Regions from separate parts of the Homo sapiens genome. Here all the other regions are linked to region 3. Evidence: promoter capture Hi-C in human tissues and cell types (Jung and others, 2019). All regions are on one chromosome and are shown on one strand. The core of a region is centred on a gene start or on the middle of the fragment in contact, and the rest is flanking DNA. Distances in the headings are between cores, read along the strand shown. Region 1 overlaps USP6 (ubiquitin specific peptidase 6). Region 2 holds the start of PELP1 (proline, glutamate and leucine rich protein 1). Region 3 holds the start of GP1BA (glycoprotein Ib platelet subunit alpha).

Evidence for each region. Contacts are between HindIII fragments. The study calls those that stand out against the background at their distance.
Region 1: a contact is called between a fragment that was not itself captured here and the fragment with the promoter of GP1BA in region 3, in 1 of the 25 tissues and cell types used here (dorsolateral prefrontal cortex).
Region 2: the fragment with the promoter of PELP1 here is called in contact with the fragment with the promoter of GP1BA in region 3 in 2 of the 25 tissues and cell types used here (dorsolateral prefrontal cortex and spleen).

Annotation. Positions count from the first base shown.
Region 1 is chr17:5,118,143-5,120,842 of GRCh38, reverse strand. USP6 (ubiquitin specific peptidase 6) reads right to left here. Exons shown (of 38, transcript NM_001304284.2): 2 at 2,553-2,643; 3 at 55-216. It also overlaps a transcript of ZNF232 not described here. Among named protein-coding and RNA genes, the nearest start is that of USP6, 3.5 kb to the right of the region's middle. The HindIII fragment of the contact is 5,478 bases long and covers 1-2,700 here.
Region 2 is chr17:4,702,665-4,705,574 of GRCh38, reverse strand. PELP1 (proline, glutamate and leucine rich protein 1) reads left to right here and starts at 1,438. Exons shown (of 17, transcript NM_014389.3): 1 at 1,438-1,712. The coding sequence starts at 1,464. It overlaps PELP1-DT (PELP1 divergent transcript), which reads right to left and starts at 1,345. Exons shown (of 2, transcript NR_103482.1): 1 at 1,205-1,345; 2 at 46-376. It also overlaps the pseudogene RPS12P29. The HindIII fragment of the contact is 43,472 bases long and covers 1-2,910 here.
Region 3 is chr17:4,930,700-4,933,531 of GRCh38, reverse strand. GP1BA (glycoprotein Ib platelet subunit alpha) reads right to left here and starts at 1,255. Exons shown (of 2, transcript NM_000173.7): 1 at 1,167-1,255; 2 at 1-933. The coding sequence starts at 927. The HindIII fragment of the contact is 8,753 bases long and covers 1-1,274 here.

The DNA.
Region 1 (2,700 bases), core at 137-2,636, 190 kb before region 3:
CATGCAGCACATGTGCCCACATGTGTGCACACCTGCTTACATATGGCCACCCACCATGCTGAAGAAACAGCCCTTGGCATCCTTGTAGCTCTTCTCCACCAATTTCTTGTCCTGGTCATGCATCTCATTCAGGATCCAGCTCAGGTTCACTCCAGGCACAGTGTCCATCTTCACACTGACATCCTCATCCACCTGACCTCAAAGGGCCTTCATTTCCTGGGCAGAGAGGACAGCAGGAGCTCACCCAAGGCCATCCTGGGGAAAGACCCTGGGGCCTGCCTTCTTTCCCTCGGAGAGACAGGTGCAGATGACAGACAGACAGACAGACAGACACAGATAGGCCAACAGCTCCTCACCCTGAAGGTGGAGGTGGATATTGTCATTACTCAAACATACAGGGCTATGAATATCAGCAACCTCCCACAACACACACTGTGACTCGGGACTGGACTTCACCCATCCCCAACAAGTGCTAAGCCCTGAGAGATAACAACCCCCCAGCACAGTGGAGGATGACCACAGGCGACCTCACTCACTGCCCTGACCTTGCCCCCACCACTGCCTTGCCCCCACCACCAACCCCACAGCACAGGCATGCAGAGAGCAACCCTACGTTGGTGTCACCGTGCCAGGCCCCATTAGCAAATGTTAATCTGCTGGAGGAAAGCAATGTATAACCAGCCTCAAAGCCAGGGGGAAACACCTTCCGGGTGTCCTGCTTCTTGGGGAGTAGGCTTCCCCAGCTTAGAGCAGCACAGAACTCGGCTGAGAAGGAAGCCACAGGAGAGGGCACGTAAGGCCTCCTGACTGCCCCGGCAGGACCTTGGATCTCTATCCTTGGGTTGAGCCTTGGAGTTCCTGGGACCTAGAACCTTCTGGAAAGGAGAGGCAGGAGAGGGGGCAGAGAGGTGGGGTGGATACAAGTCCGACAGACCTGAAGGAGGGGTCCCTGTGCAGCCGTAGATAAATCCCTTAACCTCTCTGAGCTTCAGTTTCTTCACGGGTCAAAAGGAAGAAAGAGTATCTTTCTCCCAGCTGTTTATCAGCTGAGATGATGGCTGTGAGTCACTTGTAGTGCTGGGCAGAAGTTCCTTGTTTTAATGACTATCACTATTATAATTAATTATAATAATTAGCATTGTGTGTTCTTACACTGAGTTACTCATTAGTTAGTTAACTGCAGTGAGCTGAGCCTCAAGGGACAAATGAAGTCTATTTGGGAAGAGGGGCTCCTCCAGGCCTCACCCAGGGTCCTCTGAGGGTCAGGGCTAGGCATCCATAAAAGATGGGAACTGGACTGGAAGCATGGCCCAGCCCAGGGGGTTTCTGGGCCCCAGCCTCGCTTGCTTCCAGGTGAATTTCTGCTGCATTCCCTGAGCTGACCTCACTTTAGTGGGGGCTGAAGAAGGACAAAAGAGTTAATTTTCAGATAATCAGGTAATTCATGAAATAAAAGCCCACCTATTCAAAGCTTTTATAGGTAGCAGAAGCTAATGTAGTAATGTCCAATTTGTAAACCTGAATTCCACAAAATAAAACCTACCTGTTAGGGAGCAGTCTACTTTGGAACTTTGAGAAAAGAGCCTAAATGATCAAAGTTTGCCTTCATAAGATTTTAAACAGCTAAAGAACCAAACTCCAAGAGGACCAAAACTGAGAAAAAGTCAGAGTCTGATAATCTCTTTGAGGAAGAGGGGTGATTGGAGTGTGGCTTAGGAGAGGTTTCTTCATATAAATACTTGATAGTGATAGAGGCAGGACATGAAGTTGAGAAATTCTAAGCAGATGTGGCAGGCCCCCAGTGAAACCCCATCTTTGAGCCGAAAAGCCTGAAACCCACAGCCCAAAGTGAGAACTTCTATTCCTGTTTGCTTACTCCCTCCCGATTGGTTCTTTCTGAATAATGTCTTCTTACCAATCAAATGTTGCCTTTTCCAAAAATACCTATGGCTGCCCCACCCTCATCCTGTGCCTATAAAGACCCCAGACTCAGTCAGTAGATGAGAGAGATGGCCAGACTTTCGGGAAGAAATGGCCAGACTTTGGGGAGAAGATGACCTGCCCTTTCTACCCCCTCTCTAGCTCCCCTCTCCGCTGAGAGCCACTGTGATCACTCTGTAAAATTCTCCACCTTCACCATCCTTCAAGTGCTCCACACAACCTCATTCTTTTTGGATGCCAGACAAGAGCTTGGGACCCACCAAGTTTGGCTACCCAAAAGGCTGTCACACTCACCCTTTGCCCTCACCAGTGGCAGGTAGCCACCCCACGCAATGGGGCTAGGGGCCAGCTGAGCTGTTAACACATACCCATCCTCAAACAGTGGCGCTAAGAGAGCACTGTAACACTCCCTCTGGGGATTTGGGATCACAGGCACCCCCACTTGGGCAGCACCGCAGACCCCAAATGGAGCTTGCTCCTGCAGCTGCCCAGAGCAGCCAGCTAGATCCTGCAGTCGTTTGCTCATGCCTGGTCTGGTCACAGGCTCCGCAAAGAGCTTGCTCATGCTGGTGCCTGTAGTGGCCAGCCAGATCCTGCACTTGCTCACTCACCTGCACACTCCTGCAAGAGGTTGAGCACAGTGGGCTGAGTAAACAGGGCACCCCTGTCTTGAGTCCCACGAAGGAATCAAGGAAAAAAATCCTGTATCAATAGGAAATAAGACTGTCACTACCATCCCTGAGGGAGAGAGCACATGAC
Region 2 (2,910 bases), core at 189-2,688, 230 kb after region 3:
CATAAAGAAGGCCATGAGTGAAAACAAGCCACACGCAGACCCCAATCTTGTAAAATATTCATTTATGTGCTTGTGCATAGACTAATATTAGGAAAGTATACACGCTACTGGGGCAGGGCTTTGCGGGGGAGGAGCAGTTTTTCTTTTTACTTTATGCCTTTCTGTACTGTTTGAATTGGCTTTTGCAAGGCGCACGTCTTGTATCATTTCTGAAGTTGCAAATGTAGTTAAAAATGTCTGTGATTTCAAGTTACCTAGAGAGTTATTGATTCCTTCTCTTTCCCTGCCGCTGCCGAGTTGCGCGGAGGCGGAGGCTTGGGTACCTTCAAGATTCAGCTTCACTTGTAACCCACCGCCACGGCCGAGGAAGGCATTGCTGCTGGAGGGGTAATGGATGTTAATACTGCTTCACAAGAGGTGCTGAAGACCGCTCTCATCCACCATGACCTAGCACGTGGAATTCGCGAAGCTGCCAAAGCCTTAGACAAACGCCAAGCCCATCTTTGTGTGCTTGCATCCAACTATGATGAGCCTACTATGTATGTCAAGTTGGTGGAGGCCTTTGTGCTGAACACCAAATCAACCTAATTAAGGTTGATGACAACAAGAAACTAGGAGAATGGGTAGGGCTCTGTAAAAATCGACAGAGAGGGGAAACCCCGTAAAGTGGTTGGTTGCAGTTGTGTAGTAGTTAAGGACTATGGCAAGGAGTCTCAGGCCAAGGATGACATCGAAGAGTACTTGAAATGCAAGAAATGAAGAAATAAATCTTTGGCGCGCGTACACACACACACACGTTACTGATTCCTAGGCAGGGTGCGGTGGCTCATGCCTGTAATCTCAGCACTTTGGGAGGCCAAGGCGGGCGGAACACCTGAGGTCAGGAGTTCAAGACCATCCTGGCCAACATGGTGAAACCCCATCTCTACAAAAATACAAAAAAAATTAGCCGGGCGTGGTGGCGCGCGACTGTAATCCCATCTACTCGGGAGGCTGAGGCAGGGAAATCGCTTGAACCTGGAAGGTGGAGGTTGCGGTGAGCCGAGATCGCGCCACTGCACTCCAGCCTGGGCCACAGAGCGAGACTCCGTCTCAAAAAAAAAAAATGAGAGTTATTGATTCCTACAGCGAAGATGTCCCAAGACTCCGTCCGCTAAATGGAAATCGTTCCGACTTTGGCGCCTTTTGTCCGGACCACGTGTACCTTTAACATCACAGGACCGCCTCGGACACGCTCACAGGCAGCCTCATCCGCCATCACTCCGGGAACCGAGCACCCCGCTGCCTCGGCGCCCAGGCTGCTCTCTCCGCGCATGCTCCTTCCCAGCTTGAGCCCGCGAGTCCAGCCTGCCTTCACTCAGTGCGCAAGACCGCAGCCCCCTCCCCACGCCCCCTCCCCAGTAGGCGGCCGTCGCGGTGTGTTTGCGTCATCGCGCCACGCCACCACTGGAACCCGGGGGAAGATGGCGGCAGCCGTTCTGAGTGGGCCCTCTGCGGGCTCCGCGGCTGGGGTTCCTGGCGGGACCGGGGGTCTCTCGGCAGTGAGCTCGGGCCCGCGGCTCCGCCTGCTGCTGCTGGAGAGTGTTTCTGGTTTGCTGCAACCTCGAACGGGGTCTGCCGTTGCTCCGGTGCATCCCCCAAACCGCTCGGCCCCACATTTGCCCGGGCTCATGTGCCTATTGCGGCTGCATGGGTCGGTGGGCGGGGCCCAGGTGAGTCCGTGGCCCGCGTGCCCGCGGCCCTGTGGGGAGGATGGCGCGGCACCTGTGCGCCGGGATTACGGTGCAGTGCAAGTGCGATAGGGAGGTTGAAGGAAGGAGAGCTGCGGGCAGAAAGGGGATCCAGGTATCAGTCCGGACGGGATGCACGTATTTCTCCTTTATCGGCCATGAGTTTCTCCAGGGGAAAAATGGGCCTTATTTTTCTGTTGTTAGGCTATTGGTCGGCACACAGGAATCGATTAGGTTCCAGGCCCGGTCACTCACTAGTTGTATAATCTAAAAGTCTCTTTTTCCTCTGGCAATATCTGTTTCGGGGATTGTTTCGACTGACTGAATGACGCATTCAACAATAAACATTTACCGAGCTCTTATTGAGGGTCAGATACTGTACTAGGCGCTCCGGTTACAGACGTGGTGGCGATACACAAAATGCTGCGAAACAAGATGAGAATTGAATATCAGGGGTCTCTAACCTTATCTGAAGACTGGCAGAGATTTTTCCAAAGAAACCGGCGTTTAAGCTGAGACCCTAAGGATGAATAGGGGTTGGGTAGGGAAAAAATATGGGAGGGGCTGTTCAGTCAGAGGAGAGCTCATGTGGGAAGACCCTGTGGTAGGAAGGAACTGGAAAGAAGGGCATCGTTCCTGGGGCTCAGATGTGGAGGGGAAGAGAGTGGGTACAGATGAGACTGGTGAGATGGGTAGGCAGTGGTCGGGTCATGCAGAGCGTTTTAGGCCGGGTTAGGAGCCTTTGGACTTCTATAAGAATGGAATCTGATAACCATTCAGTTCTGCAAGCTAGACACTCAAGTAATTCTAAACTCTTCTTCATACACCTCCATAAGCAATCTGTCAAGTCCTGTTGATTTTATCCTTTGAGTAGTTTTCAGATCTGTCCACTCTTTTCCATCTTTCTCATTGCTCCCATTCTAGCTTGAACCCCCACCATCTTGTCCGGGTGAAGGCACTGATTCTAAGAAGGCATATTTCTAGCCCATAATAGCTGCTCCTTATAACAATCTCCTATCTTCCCTTCTCTCCCACTAAACCTCCCCCAAATTCTACCCATCCTTCAAGACCCATAAACACGAGATCTTCTGTGTCCACCCTTCATTCCTGGGACCTTCCTAGCTCTATGCTACCTTCCAGGAAGATGGTTGTCACAATTTGCTGGGTGGGTCAATAACCT
Region 3 (2,832 bases), core at 6-2,505:
CCTTGTGGCACGCACCTTATCGCCCTCAGTGTCCTCTTCTGGGTAGTAATCATATAGGTCTGTGTCACCTTCATCACCAAGGGTGGGGCACCCCTTTCCTGGGTATTTGTAGACGGGAAACTTGTCTGAATTGTCACACTGCACACTGGCCACGTTAGAGGTCATGGCCTTGACGTCCACACCTTGCTTCCATACGTAGACATTTTCAGCATTGTCCTGCAGCCAGCGACGAAAATAGAGGATCTCACAGTTGCATAACCAGGGGTTCCCGTGGAGAAAAGCAAAAGGCAGGAGGTGGGACCCAAAAAAGCCCTTTGGTATTGTATACAGCGAGTTCTCTTGGAGGAGAAGGGTGTCGAGATTCTCCAGCCCATTCAGGAGCCCAGCGGGGAGCTCAGTCAAGTTGTTGTTAGCCAGACTGAGCTTCTCCAGCTTGGGTGTGGGCGTCAGGAGCCCTGGGGGCAGGGTCTTCAGCTCATTGCCTTTCAGGTAGAGCTCTTGGAGTTCGCCAAGACCACGCAGGGCACCAAGAGGCAGCGAGGTCAGCCGGTTGAAGGAGACGTCCAGGACGGTGAGAGCAGGCAGTGTCTGCCCTAGCAAGGGCAGGCTTTGCAGCTGATTGTGGGATAGATCCAGGGTCCCCAGCACTGGCAGCGTCCCATCGACCTGGAGCTTGGTGAGCTCGCACCTATCTAGGTTCAGCTGAGTGAGGCGAGTGTAAGGCATCAGGGTTGCCAGGGAGAAGGTGTACAGGAGGTTCTCACTCAGGTGGAGGATGGTTGTGTCTTTCGGCAGGTCTGGAGGCAGCGCTGTCAGATTCCTCTTGTCACAGTTCACTTCTAGGTGGCTGGCCACTTTGGAGACCTCACAGATGGGGTGGGGGTGTAAGGGGCTTGGCAGCAGGAGCAGCAAGAGGAGGAGAGGCATGAGGACCTGTGGGCAAGGGAGCCTTGAGTGGATCCCCCTGCATCCCCTGGAAGCATCCCCCCAGGCCCCAGCCCCCTTCCCCCTGCAGCTTCGCTTCCAGAAACAGCATCCACACCTCCTGTCCTCCCTACTCCCATCTCCCACCCTTGCCTGCAGAACTTAAAACTACTAGCTCCAGGTCCTTGGCTCTTTCCCCTCCCTCAGACCCCTCTCCTGCCCCAGCACCAACCCCGGCTTACAGGCAGGCAGAAAGACCTCCGAAGGCACAGAGCGTCTTCTAGGGTGCCACTCGACTCCGTCCTTCTCTCTTCTAGCCCCATGGAGGACTAAGCCAGTGGCAAGGAAGGGGATGGGGGTGAGGAGGAAATGCAGGCCTGATAGGGATTCCAGTGACCGGGAATCCCCTGGACACAAGCCCTTATCGCCTCACTCCACGGCTTTCCCCCAGGCCCTCTTTGTGGTTCTCTCTTCCGCTTTCCTTTTACACAGGGGAGATGGGGGTGGACTCCTCCAAACAGCCTTCTGCCATCTTTTAAAAACCTCTCCAGGGCCGGGCGCGTGGCTCATGCCTGTAATCCCAGAACTTTGGGAGGCTGAGGCGGGCGGATCACCTGAAGTCAGGAGTTCGAGACCAGCCTGACCAACACGGGGAAACCCTGTCTCTACTAAAAATACATTAGCCAGGCGTGGTGGCGCATGCCTGTAATCCCAGCTACTCGGGAGGCTGAGGCAGGAGAATCGCTTGAAACCGGGAGGTGGAAAGAGGTTGCGGTGAGCCGAGATCGTGCCATTGTACTCCAGCCTGGGTGACAAGAGCAAAACTCCATCTTAAAAACAAAAAAACCTCTCCAGATGCCCGCTTCTCTTCCTCTTCACAGCTGCATTCTGAGAGTTGCCTACTTTTAATTCTCTCCCACCTTTCTCTCTGCCTTCTCACCCCAGTCTATGCTGATTTCTTTCCCCTGCTACTCCATTGACTCGGTTCTTACCAAGGTCTTTAATGCTCTCCCTCCTCTACATCCATGGGAAACTTCTCCACTGTGATCTTACTTTATTTCGGCAGCCTGCATACCCATGGCCACTCGCCCCTTGGGATTCTCCTTTTGGCCTCTGTGACACATGACCCTGTAATTTTCTTGGTTTTCTTCTTACCTGTTTGGTTGGGCCTTCTCAGTCTCCTTCATAGATTCCCCTTCTTGAACAATTAAACTGCCCCCAGAGTTTGTGCTTAGGCTGTCTTCATTCCCAGCTAATTTTTATATTTTTAGTAGAGACGGGGTTTCACCATGTTGGTCAGCCTGGTCTCGAACTCCTCATCTCAAGTGATCCACCCACATTGGCTTCCCGAAGTGCTGGGATTAGAGGCATGAGCCACCGCGCCCGGCATTCTCTTCTTTTCTTACGCTATGCAACCACCTGAGATTATCCTCATCCATTCCCTTGCCTTCAACCACCACCTACAACCTAATGACTCTCAAATCTATGTCTCTAGTCCAGACCCTTCTCCTGAGACACAAGCACATATGTCCAGCTGCCTTCTGGACATCTCTACTTGGATGTCCCACAGACACCAAAACAATATGTTCAAAGCTGAACTCACCATCTCTCTCCAAATGGCTTCTCCTCCTGTGTTGCTCAGCCTGGTGAGTGGCACCATCATCCACTCATTTACCTAACCATTCAGTCAACACAAACAAAATCCCTAATAGTCATCTCTAACGTCTCCCGTCTTTCATCCCCATCACCAAGTCCTGGTGATTTTATCTCCCGTCTCTCTCAAATCTACTCTCCATCCACACCATCCTGCCAGCATTCCTAGTCCAAGGTTGTTGTTGTTTCTTGTTCATATCCTCCTCCTCCTCTTCTTCTTCCTCCTCTTCCTCCTTTCTTCTTCTTCTTCTTTTT